Regions from separate parts of the Homo sapiens genome. Here regions 2 and 3 are each linked to region 1. Evidence: promoter capture Hi-C in human tissues and cell types (Jung and others, 2019). All regions are on one chromosome and are shown on one strand. Each heading gives the region's core, a stretch centred on a gene start or on the middle of the fragment in contact. The rest is flanking DNA. Distances are from core to core; before and after follow the strand shown.

Evidence for each region. Contacts are between HindIII fragments. The study calls those that stand out against the background at their distance.
Region 2: a fragment that was not itself captured here is called in contact with the fragment with the promoter of DSEL in region 1 in 1 of the 25 tissues and cell types used here (dorsolateral prefrontal cortex).
Region 3: a fragment that was not itself captured here is called in contact with the fragment with the promoter of DSEL in region 1 in 1 of the 25 tissues and cell types used here (lymphoblastoid cells).

Annotation. Positions count from the first base shown.
Region 1 is chr18:67,515,028-67,519,276 of GRCh38, reverse strand. DSEL (dermatan sulfate epimerase like) reads left to right here and starts at 2,557. Exons shown (of 2, transcript NM_032160.3): 1 at 2,557-2,916; 2 at 3,785-4,249. It overlaps DSEL-AS1 (DSEL antisense RNA 1), which reads right to left and starts at 2,731. Exons shown (of 5, transcript NR_033921.1): 1 at 2,528-2,731. The HindIII fragment of the contact is 11,831 bases long and covers 53-4,249 here.
Region 2 is chr18:68,570,845-68,575,093 of GRCh38, reverse strand. No RefSeq gene overlaps it. Among named protein-coding and RNA genes, the nearest start is that of TMX3, 140 kb to the left of the region's middle. The HindIII fragment of the contact is 5,132 bases long and covers 1-4,249 here.
Region 3 is chr18:68,534,225-68,538,473 of GRCh38, reverse strand. No RefSeq gene overlaps it. Among named protein-coding and RNA genes, the nearest start is that of TMX3, 180 kb to the left of the region's middle. The HindIII fragment of the contact is 3,596 bases long and covers 125-3,720 here.

The DNA of each region.
Region 1 (4,249 bases), core at 1,308-3,807:
GTGTCTCTTGCCACACTCATAAAGGTTTTTAATGTACAATAACATAGCATATAGCTCATCCCTTCTATGGTCGGATGCATTATTTATAATTAACTAACTTTGTACCATCTTCATGTGTGGAAGGAGCAATAATTGGAGCTATCCATTTTTAGTTCACAGAAAACAAGACTCTCTTCATTTTTGACAGTGCCATTTACCTACCACCCTTTCTGCCAATGATTTGAATTGTTCAGTTGTGGCTCTTGTTTTATTTTAATGCATTCACATTTTACCACTATGCAAAGATGTCTGTTCAAAATGAATTAGTCTGAAAGCCCATCTGAGAATGCTGGGAGGCTAGCTGCATCCCCACTGCTTCAGCACAGATGCATGGGGCAGAGCTGAAAGGCCACAATGTCGGTACCTGAATTCATTCTTCTCTAAAGTGAAAATGATCATACTGATATTTCAAAATCTGAAAACAACATTGGAAGAATATTTGCCTGGCAGATGTTCGCGCATTAATTCTCTCTGACTCACCTTGCCCTCGCATCATGAGACACTTTGAATCCATAGAAATAACCCTGCCCCACACTTTGTTCTGAGAAATGTTCTGTACATCTAGTAGCTGTGTTTACTAACCCTAAATTCTAGGCTCCCCTCTGCAAACAGATAGGAATCTCTGGAGTCAGCTCCCCGTTTCCCCCAACTCTACTCTCTCATAAATGTGGTTGGAGGCCATGGGTCCTCTTCCTCTATCAGGGGCCATGTAGAGGCACAATCCAGATTTTACAGGAAGTTGTGTCAGAAGAGGATCCTTGTTTGGGAATAAACCTCAGTGGAGGAGACGAGGCTCTGTATCAGCCCAATTGTTCGAGGTTCAACTCATTTCAAAAGCAGATATAGTACTTACAAAGGGGACTTGAGTGCTACTCATGACTTGAAGGAGTTTTGAATAGGGTACAGGAGTCAACCAGTTGAAATAGAAAGCAGAAAATAAACAACCTAAACGGCCGAATATAGGTACAAATGATATAGTTCTGGAGTAATACATTCTGGCTAGGGAAACTTAGGAGTTATTTACAGAAGAATGTAAGCATCTGAGTTGAGACCTGGATGATCAGATAATTTCAACAGTCAGAAGAATTTTAACTAGTAAGTGGGGTGGTTGGGTAAAGGACACTGTGAGGGAAAGAATGGAATAAGCATAGTTACTGAAGCACCCAAGCAAAAGCAAGTGTGGCTATTTGGACTGGGCTAGGGGTTACTACGGGGCCAAAACAGAAGAGTGATGAGGAGTTAGAGGCCACATTTCACCTCAAAGTTAAATGATTTGAAATTTATTCTGCTAGCAGTCGTCTACTGTTTGATTTTCAGCAGCAAATGATCTAAGCAAGACATTTATTTTTAAAATGTTAAAATATATCTTATTAAATATTACCAAAATAGTATGGGAAATGAAGAGACTGAATGTGTTACTAATCCCCAACTGAGAATGGAATTGTTCATTTGTGAAGCTTGATATTTCCCTGTATTTTTATTACTACTAAGCTATTATTTTTTACATTTGAGGTCAGAGCTTGGGTTGGTTTATGCCAAAGTGTCATCTCAGCTATCTGTGAGAAGCTCCATGTGTGGAGTGCAACAGGAGTCCCAGCCTGCTCTAGGATTTCCACGACCTGGCACTGCACTCACATGTCGTAGTAGCCGGGGCACACTGCCTTCTCCTGTCTGCATGTAGGTCTTTACCGAATACCAGGTCCCATTTTTAAATAAGAGGCTCCTTCTACTTGTTTGTCCCATGCTTCCCCTATTTATACTGCCTGAGAAATTGTTTTCCATCAGTAAAGCTGATTAGTCTTTTCTGTTTTCCCTTGATCTTTGTTAGCATCTGGGCTACAGAAGTTGTCCTCCTATATTAATCTGGGTATTTCGGTTTTGCTTTTCCAAAGGACAGCAAGCTCAGCCAGGCTGCCTCTCAGTTCCAAGGGAGTGCTCATTCCCTCCTTCCCCAGCCCTTGCTCTTTCCAAAAGGATGATTTCTGTCGTCCCAGGGCTTATCCCCTCCCACTCCAGCTCCTCCCATCATTTGAGTCAATCCCACAGCCCCCACTATGGCTCTATTATATAGTTGTCGTCTTCCCATAACCAAAAGGTTTTAACGCCAGCCTGGCAGCGTCTTTAGACTCTCGCACTCCCAAACTGTCCCCTCCTCCAGCTCGACTCCTCCGGGAGCGCGCGGCCACCGCTGCAAGCCCAGAACACAAACGCCTAGAGCTTCCTCCGCTTAGAAACCCGGGGCGCTTGGCCCCGCCTCACCTGCTTTCGGCCCCGCCCCGCCCGCCGCCGGCCTGCTCACGGCTCCTCCCGTCCTCCCCGAAGCCCCGCCTCTGACCCCGCCCTGTCCTGTCTCCGTCCCGCCCCACGCCCGCCAGCCAGCGTCGCTGTCTCTCGCCTTCCCTGAGGCCCCGCCTTCAGCCCCGCCTTCAACCCCGCCCCGTCCTGCCTCCGCCCCGCCCCCGCTTGCCGGCCCGCGTCGCCGTCTCACCCTCCCCGGGCTGCGCGGCCGGAGCTGGCACAGAGGATCCTCGGCCGCGGCGACATCACCGCCTGGGCACGCGGGCGCTGCTCTGGATACGGCGCCACCGAGAGAACCCGCCGCCCGCGGGTCTCTGTCCTGCGGTCCGTGGTTGCCCCCACAAGCGTCCGGCGTTTCCTGAGGGCGGGCGTGTCCGGGCCGTGCGGGTCGCGGGGACCGAGCGCGGCTGAGGAGACCGAGCTGGGGCAGCGCCTGCCGTAGCGCGGGAGACGACGCGGGGGTCTTGCGGAGCCCCGCGGGAGCCTGGCCCGCCGTGCAGAGCAGTTTTCTGGAACTCTCCACCTCCGTCTCCCTTGGGGCCCAGTGCGGCGCCGAGCCCCCGTCGGGATCTGCCTGAGGTAAGCGGACTTGGTGGCTCAGGGGTCTCTCGCCATCCTGCCTCACTCAGCCCCAGAGCGGGGAGCGGAGAATGGGGGCGGCAGGGTCGGAGGACGCCAGTGAAAAAATGCAACAGGCGGGGCGGATCAGGAAACTCCTAGCCTGAATGTTTCCTACAGAGGGGAGACTTGTCCAAGACTGAAACTTGCTTAGGTTCTTCCAGCCGCGGACGGGCACGGAGAGGCGTCTTTCGACACCGGGGTCCGAGCTCCCTCTGGCGGCTCCACCTGAGGACAGGGACTCGGCCACAGGTGAGCGCCGAGCGCGGAGCTCCCGCCCCTCGGCTTGGCGCCTGGTCACGATTCGCGGTTACCCCGCCGAGAAAAGTGACTGGTCCGAGTAGTTCTCATTAGGAAGATACCTTCTGATCCCATGAACTCTAAACCTTCCCCCGGAATTAAAAAAAAAAAAAAAAAAAAAGATCTTTTCAACTTTCAGTTTTTTGTCCCTCGGTCCTTGGGAACAAGAAATAACAAGGATAGCAGGACTCATCTTTGTGTAAACTGCATTTGAATACAAACATTTTTTAAGTGACTGAAGCCACGTTAGTGGCGTTAAACTATAGATATTGTCGGGAGAGTTCTATCTTGTATATTTTGTATTGTTAGTTGCTTGTCTTCTGCTGACGGTCACTGGTTTCCAAATAAGTGCGTGTAAATGGATAAGAAAAAAATCACTTGCCCTAGCTTAGGTTGCAGATAATATGAGATTTTACTGTGATTCTAAAATTTCTATTAAGTGATTGCAGAATGTTTAAGTCATCAGTTTATATTCATTCTCAGCATACCTGAAGCCTCAGAGAATTTTTATTTTGTCCCCCATCCCCAGAAAAGTGTCATGAAAAAAGAGCAGAAGAGAGACCTCACTGTTGCTGAAAGGGGAATTTTCTTTCCCCGTTGGCGGTTACTTCATGATCGGACGAGAAGTATCTAGGTGACTGAAGATATTCCATTTTTATGTTTGTACACATGAAGCTGATAAAAGAAGATGTGAACATGATTTCTCTTTGTCATAATAGGCTGATGAGTAAGTAAGCCTGAAAAATATTTGAAATGAAGGCAAGAATTTTGAATTTTTAAAAACCAACTAAGACTTTGATCACTTGTTGAGGATGTTTCTCTCTCATAAATGAAAGAAAAACGTATTCACAAGACAAGAAGTATAAAAAGTTGAGAGGAATGACAACTGAGTCCACTCACTCGAAGAATGTCAGTACTTCATCATCTTCTTTGGGCAAACATACACAAATGCATCATACATGTGTGGTGAGCTTATCACCAGTGATGGTTTTCT
Region 2 (4,249 bases), core at 1,304-3,803, 1.1 Mb before region 1:
ATACAACTTATGTATTAGCTCATTTAACACTCACAACTTCAGTGAAATAGCTATTACTATGCCTATCACTGGAATTTGATGGCATGTTTTATTTTAAGAGCCCCTATATAATCTGTGAAATATTTATCCTAGCATATTTGGCACACTGTGTACCTTAAGTGTTCAGAATGTCAGCCTATCGTTCATGACACTTGCGTAGGTGAATTGGCAGAAGTGGTGGAGGGAACTTATTGAGGATGGGTGGCAAGGATTGTTGTTGAGCAACTATCTTGGCTTTGAAGAAGAGGACACCTGGATGGACCCAAGTTTTGTCCTGCCAAAAGCTGATACAATTTTGGTGGTGTCTTCAAGAAAAATTATTCACATTTTTAAAAAACAAAACTATGCATGGGACTTGGAAAGGGCACGTAAAACTGGAGTGTTCTGAAACTTAAGCTCTGTGGTCTTCACAGTCACGAGATTTCTGAAAATATGGCTTAACTCATGTGAAAATAGTTTTGGTGACTGTCTAACTTTTGTAAGTTAGTCTCATAGCTGAGGGCTGCAGACTAACACCATTTCATTAGAGTCTCTTAAGCCGCAAAGCTCGCTTCTCTGTTTGGGGTTTGAGAACTCCAAGTGAGAGATCTCAGAAGTGAGGAGGACAGATTACTGAGTGTTGGCTCAGACAGGTTACTGATTTGTCACCTCGCCCTCTGTTTTCTTTGTCTCTTAAGGTTTGTCTTAAGTTTTATAATTCTATAACTCAAAGAAATCCAGTTTTAGTGATTGTACAGAGTATACATGCCACAGAAAACTCACCTGATAGTCAATCTACATATGCAGGCATTTTTATTATTTTTTTCTTAATTTGTATTTATTTACAATTTTAGGTTCAGGAGGTACATCTGCAAGTTTGTTACATGAATATATTGTGTATTGGTGAGGTTTAGGCTTCTTGTGTACTCGTCACCCAAATGGTGAACATTGTACCTAATAGGTAATTTTTTGTAACCCTCACCACTTTCCTAGCCTCCCCCCTTTTCACTTCCCCAATATCTATTATTTCCAACTTTATGTTTATATGTATTCATTCTTTAGCTCCCACTTATTTTTTATGACTTTTTTCTAATTTTTAAATTATTTTTTAAATTTTATTTTATTTTAAGTTCTGGGATACGTGTGCGGGACGTGCCCATGTGTTACATAGGTAAACATGTGCCATGGTGGTTTGCTGCACCTTATCAACCCATGACCTAGGTATTAGCTATTTATCCTGATTCTCTCACTTCTCCTGCCACCTGACAGGCCCCAGTATGCATTGTTCCCCTTCCAGTGTCCATGAGTTCTCAGTGTTCAGCTTCCACTTACAAGTGAGAGCATGTGGTGTTTGGTTATCTGTTCCTGTGTTAGTTTGCTGAGGATAATGGCTTCTAGCTCCATCCATGTCTCTGCAAAGGACATGATCTCATTCCTTTTTATGGCTCCATAGTATTCTATTGTGTATATGTACCACATTTTCTTTTTCCAGTCTATCATGGATGGGCAGTGGGGTTGAGTCCATGTCTTTGCTATTGTGAATAGTGCTGCAAAGAACATATGTGTGCTTGTATCTTTATAATAGAATGATTTATACTCCTTTGGGTATACACCCAGTAATGGGATTGCTGGGTCAAATGTTATTTCTGGTTCTAGGTCTTTTAGGAATCACCACACTATCTTCCACAATGGTTGAACTAATTTACATTCCCACCAACAGTATAAAAGCATTTCTATTTCTCCACAGCCTTGCCAGCATGTGTTATTTCTTTACTTTTTAATAATTGCCATTCTGTCTGGCGTGCGATAGTATCTCACTGTGGTTTTGATTTACATTTCTCTAATCATCAATGATATTGAGCTTTTTATAATATATTTGTTGACCACATAAATGTCTTCATTTGAGAAGTGTCTGCTCATAGCGTTTGCCCTCTTTTTAATGGGGTTGTTTGTTTTTTCTCTTGTAAATTTGTTTAAGTTCCTTGTAGATTCTGGATATTAGACCTTTGTCAGACAGATAGGTTGCAAAACTTTTCTCCCATTCTGTAGAATGTCTATTCACTCTGATGATAGTTTCTTTTGTTGTGCAGAAGCTCTTCAGTTTATCAGACCCTATTAGTCAATTTTTGCTTTTGTTGCAATTACTTTTGGTGTTTTTGTCATGAAATCTTTGCCAATGCTAATATACTGAATGGTATTTCCTAGATTTTCTTCTTGGGTTTTTATAATTTTGGGTTTCACATGTAAGTCTTCAATCCATCTTGAGTTAATGTTTGTATAAGGTGTAAGGAAAGGGCCCATTTTCACTTTTCTGCATATGGCTAGCCAGTTTTCCCAGCACCATTTATTAAATAGGGAATCCTTTCCCTATGGCTCGTTTTTGTCAGATTTGTCAAATATCAGATGATTGTAGATATGCATTTCTTTTTCTGATATCTCTATTGTGTTCCATTGGTCTATATATCTATTTTGCAACAAGTGCCATGCTGTTTTGGCTATTGTAGCCTTGTAGTATAGTTTGAAGTCAGGTAGCATGATGCCTTCAGCTTCATTTTTTTTGTATAGGATTGTCTTGGCTATACGGGCTCTTTTTTTTTCCATATGAATTTTAAAGCAGTTTTTTCTAATTCTGCAAAGAATGTCAATGGTAGTTTAATGGGAATAGCACTGAATCTATAAATTACTTTGGGTAGAATGCCCATTTTTATGATATTGATTATTCCTATCCATGAGCATGAAATGTTTTTCCATTTGTTTGTGTTCTCTCTGATTTCCTTGAGCAGTGGTTTGTAGTTCTCCTTGAGCAGGTCCTTCACTTCCATTGTTAGTTGTATTCCTAGGCATTTTATTCCCTTTGTAGCAATTGTGAATAGGAGTTCATTCATATTTTGGTTCTTTGATCGTCTATTGTTAGTGTATTGGAATGCTTGCAATTTTTGCACTTTGATTTTGTATTCTGAGACTTTGCTGAAGTTGCTTATAAGCTTAAGAAGCTTTTGGGCTGAGATGATAGGGTTTTCTAGATACAGGATCTTGTCATCTGCAAAGGAGACATTTGACATTTGTTCAATTTCCATGTGGGTTGAAGATTTTTGTATCTATGTTCATTAGGGATATTGGCCTATAGTTTGTTGTTGTTGTTGTGTCTTTGCTGATTTTGGAATCAAGGTGTTAATGGCTTCATAGAATGAGTTAGGGAGGAATCTCTCCTCCTCAATATTTTGGAATAGTTTTAGCAATATTGGTATTAGCTCTTCTTTGTACATCTGGTAAATCTGGCTGTTAATCCATCTGGTACTTTCCTTTTCTGTTTTTGGGAGATTTTTAATTACTAATTTGATTTCAATACTCATTATTGGTCTGTTCACGGTTTCTATTCCTTCCTGGCTCTATTTCTTCCTAGATGAAATGGATAGGTTTCTAGAAATGTACAACCTCCCCAGATTTATTCATTTCCTCTAGGTTTTCTCGTCTGTGCACAGATGTTCCTATTAATCTCTGATGATCTTTTTGTATTTTTGTGGTAATAGTTGTAAAATCACTTTTATAATTTCTGATTGTGCTTATCTAAATCTTCTTGCTTTTTTCCCTTTAATTTAGCTAGTGGTCTATCAACTTTATTTATCTTTTCAAACAGTTTTTCACTTCATTGATCATTGTATTATTTTGGGGGTCTCAATCTCATTTAGTTCTGCTCTGATTTTTTTTAACGTCTTTTCTTCTGCAAAGTTTGGGTTTGGTTTATTTTTGTTCTTCTAGTTCCTTGAGGTGGAATATTAAGTTGTTGATCTAATATTTTTATATCTTTTTGATGTAGGGATTTAATGTTATAAAATTTCCTCTTAGCGCTACTTTTGCTACATATCCCAGAGGTTTTGGTATATCATGTCTCTATTTTCATTCATTTTAAATTTTTTTAAAATTTCTATCCTAATTTCATTGATTATCCAAAGATCATTCAAGAATAAGTCATTTAGTTTCCAAGTATATGTTTACTTTTGATAATTCCTCTGCATTAATAATGTCTTTTTTCTTTTTCTTTCCTTTTTTTTTCTTTCTTTTTTTTTTTTTTTTGAGACAGGGTCTTTCTCTGTTGCCCAGGCTGGAGTGCAGTGTCATGATCTTGGCTCACTGCAAACTCTCCCTCCTGGGCTCAAGGGAACCTCTCACCTCAGACTCCTGAGTAGCTAGGACTGCAGGCACTTGCCATCATACCTGGCTAATTTTTTTT
Region 3 (4,249 bases), core at 673-3,172, 1.0 Mb before region 1:
TTTGTACCAGAAACCTCTCAAAGACAAAATAGAAGCCAAATGGATTATACAGAGAAATTATCAAAGTGATAAAATTTATTTTTAAAATGTGCTGAAACATCTTTATTCTGTCAACAGAAATCAAGGTAATAAATATCACTGTTTTCTACCCCTTTAGTTTTAATGGCTCATACATAGACTGACAAAAATATGTTTCTGTCAAAAATTGATCCAAAAATATAAACATATTAAAAAAGAACAGAATTACATGTCAGTGTTTGAATTGAAGGATTAGACCTATTTTATTTTATTTTAAAGAATACAGAAAGCCCACATCCTGTTAGTACGATATTCTTTCTTGTTTTATATTTATGGATACTTGGGAATTCCTGGCTGTGTTGTCCCAAGACTCTATTCTACCTAGGATGCAATTGAAATTTTGCTGGGTGTCGTGACAGTGGAGGCTAGTGTCTCAGGCATCACATCTTATGAGAATGTTCGCAAAGATCTTTCTGACTGAGGAACTCTAGGTATGTCTAGTTAGCATCTTACCTCTAAATAATGTACTAGATTTCTTTTCCAATGTCAGCCTCCAGTGTCACCCATATAAAGGCACAAAAGATATAAGGAGTCAGCACCAGAGAATTGAGTTTGGGGAAGCATTGCTTGATTCCAAATCAACCTTGGAGAATAGCCCAGTGGTTGATTGGTTAGGCTGTGCCCTCACCCAGATCTCACCTTGAGTTGTAATGCTCTCCACCTGTCAAGGGTGAGGCCAGGTGGAGATAATTGAATAATGAGGGCAGCTTCCCCCATACTGTTCTCCTGGTAGTAAATAAGTCTCACGAGATCTGATGGTTTTGTAAATGGGAGTTCCCCTGTACAAACCCTCTCTTGCCTGCTGCCATGGAAGAAGTGACTTGCTTCCCCTGTACTTTCTGCCTTGATGGTGAGGCCTCCCCAGCCATGTGGAACTGTGAGTCAATTAAACCTTTTTCCTTTACAAATTACCGAGTCCTGGGTCTTAAATTATCAGGAATATTGCAAGCTGGTTGTTAGATACTTAGTAGTTGAAATCGTCCCTGATGAGACTATTGATATCACAGAAATTAGCAAATTAGGAAACCTACGAATTGGAGCCCCCCCTCATCCAGTGGTGCTTAAACATGTACTATTGCTATTGTACATTGCTGTTACTGGGACTCAGCAGTGTGAGAACAAACGAATACAGAAGCTTATTGAGGAGTCAGCGTTTCTTTGGGTAGGAAAGTGGCCTGTACTACAGCAGTAGCGCCTGAGTGCAGGCCATTCTGATAGTCTGTGCTGAACTCCTACTCCAGGCATGTGCCTGGATGAAACATCTCACAAAGGGAATGAATTGGTCAGTGACATACTAGTACATGTTTAAGCACCATGGTGTGTGAGGAGGGCTCTAATTTATAGATTTGCTGATTTCTGCGATATCAATACTCCCATCATGGCCAATTTCAGCTACTAAGTATCTAAGAACCAGCTTGCAAAATTCCTGATGATTTAATAATCATCTCTTAGCAGCCAACACAAACAAGCTCCAGAACCCCACAAAGTGTTCTCTGTGTAAGTTTAATATAACAGGAAAAAATAAAATAATCTGAAGTTTAGTGATCCTCCAAATTAATGGAAAACCACTTGAAAATAAGAACTAAATTTTATACCCAGAAAACTTGATTACCACAAAGGGATAAAGATAGAAAAATCCCAAAATTATTATATGAATCTTCTTTGATTCAAAGTGGCTTATGTGGTGTGTCTTACTGCTATTACTGGGACTTACAGAGATAGCATGAGTGTTTGTTGTATATTAGAATTTTTAAAAATCTAAAGAAAAACATTTTCTTAAAAGTGCTAAGCTGGCTGGGCTCAGTGGCTCACGCCTGTAATCCCAGCACTTTGGGAGGCTGAGGTGGGTGGATCACGAGGTCAAGAGTTCGAGACCAGCCTGACCAACATGGTGAAACCCCATCTCTACTAATAATACAAAAATTAGCCGGGCGTGGTGGCACACGCCTATAATCCCAGCTACTCAGGAGGCTGAGGCAGGAGAATCGCTTAAACCTGGGAGATGGAGGTTACAATCAGCCGTGATTGTGCCACTGCACTCCAGCCTGGGTGACAGAGTGAGACTCCACCTCAAAAAAAATAAAAAAGAAAATAAAAAATACTAAACCATGGGTGCAGTGAGATGGATGATGAAAATTGGCTAACGGGTACAATGTACGTTATGAGGCTGATGGATACCATCAAAGCTCAGACTTGACCATTATGCAATCCATGCATGTAACAAAATTGCACACGTACCTCATAAATTTGTACCAGAAACCTCTCAAAGACAAAATAGAAGCCAAATGGATTATACAGAGAAATTATCAAAAGTGATAAAATTAATTTTTAGAATGTACTAAAACATACTGTTTATTCTGTCAACAGAAATCAAGGTAATAAATATCACTGTTTTCTACCCCTTTAGTTTTAATGGCTCATACATAGACTGACAAAAATATGTTTCTGTTAAAAATTGATCCAAAAATATAAACATATTTAAAAAGAACAGAATTACATGTCAGTGTTTGAATTAAAGGATTAGACCTATTTTATTTTATTTTAAAGAATACAGAAAGCCCTCATCCTGTTAGTATGATATTCTTTCTTGTTTTATATTTATGGATACTTGGGAATTCCTGGCTGTGTTGTCCCAAGACTCTATTCTACCTAGAATGCAATTGAAATTTTGCTGAGATGAGTGTCGTGACAGTGGAGGTTAGTGTCTCAGGCACTATGAGAATGTTCGCAAAGATCTTTCTGACTGAGGAACTCTAGGTATGTCTAGTTAGCATCTCACCTCTAAATAATGTACTAGATTTCTTTTCCAATGTCAGCCTCCAGTGTCACCCATATAAAGGCACAAAAGATATAAGGAGTCAGCACCAGAGAATTGAGTTTGGGGAAGCATTGCTTGATTCCAAATCAACCTTGGAGAATAGCCCAGTGGTTGATTGGTTAGGCTGTGCCCTCACCCAGATCTCACCTTGAGTTGTAATGATCTCCACCTGTCAAGGGTGAGGCCAGGTGGAGATAATTGAATAATGAGGGCAGCTTCTCCCATACTGTTCTCCTGGTAGTGAATAAGTCTCACGAGATCTGATGGTTTTGTAAATGGGAGTTCCCCTGTACAAACCCTCTCTTGCCTGCTGCCATGTAAGAAGTGACTTGCTTCCCCTGTACTTTCTGCCTTGATGGTGAGGCCTCCCCAGCCATGTGGAACTGTGAGTCAATTAACCTTTTTCCTTTACAAATTACCGAGTCCTGGGTCTTAAATTATCAGGAATTTTGCAAGCTGGTTGTTAGATACTTAGTAGTTGATGGTTAATGTAGGAGGAAGGCAGACTTAACGCTCGGTGTTTTCCTTTTTACTTCAGACTGGGAAGCTTCCTTGTCCCGGCCCAGGCACCCGTGGAGCATCCCCTCCATCAACTGGATTGCCATCTCCTTCTGGGTAAGTTTAATTCCCACAAACTCTGCAAAGAATATGTAATATTATTTGAGATAACTCACTGATCAGCTAAGGAACAAGCTGAAGATGGAAACAATCAGGTAGATTTATCATTTACAATAATTTTGCAATATAATATTATTCTCAAATTACTTCATCTTTTGCCTTTTTAGAAAGCATGTTTGCAAAAAAAAATTGACTTCCTTCTGTATTGTTCTACTGGGTTTCTTGGGTATCAAAGATGAAAGAATAATAGTGCATGAGAATAAAATTGAATGCCTTGATGCCTGGACTTTTGTTTATAAATGAGATTTATTTCTGTGTCTGAACCCCTTTCCCCTTGTTCCGTTAAAAGTCTTGGCTAACACACAGTAGTTACTTGTTAAATACTTTGAAAATGAATGTTTATGTATATAAACTTCCTGAAAAATTATAGCCTTACAGAAAATAGAAGTGATATACACAGATACTTTCTAAAGTATGGACAAGCTTTTCTGGATCCGTCATTTTCATGCTATAGAACTTCCCAGGAGATGTTTGTCCTTTTAGCATATTTAGAATTTAACTCCTATTTTGATGGAGAGCAACTCCAAGTCCTTGGAAAACAAAGCTACTGATACCAGTGTTAGGTGCTTTCAGTTTTCATTTACTTGAGCTGCCAATGTTAATGTACGTAGTTTAATTATATCTTACTGTATTCTGTTAATGTTTCTATTTGTGGGAGCACTTTTTCATACAGTA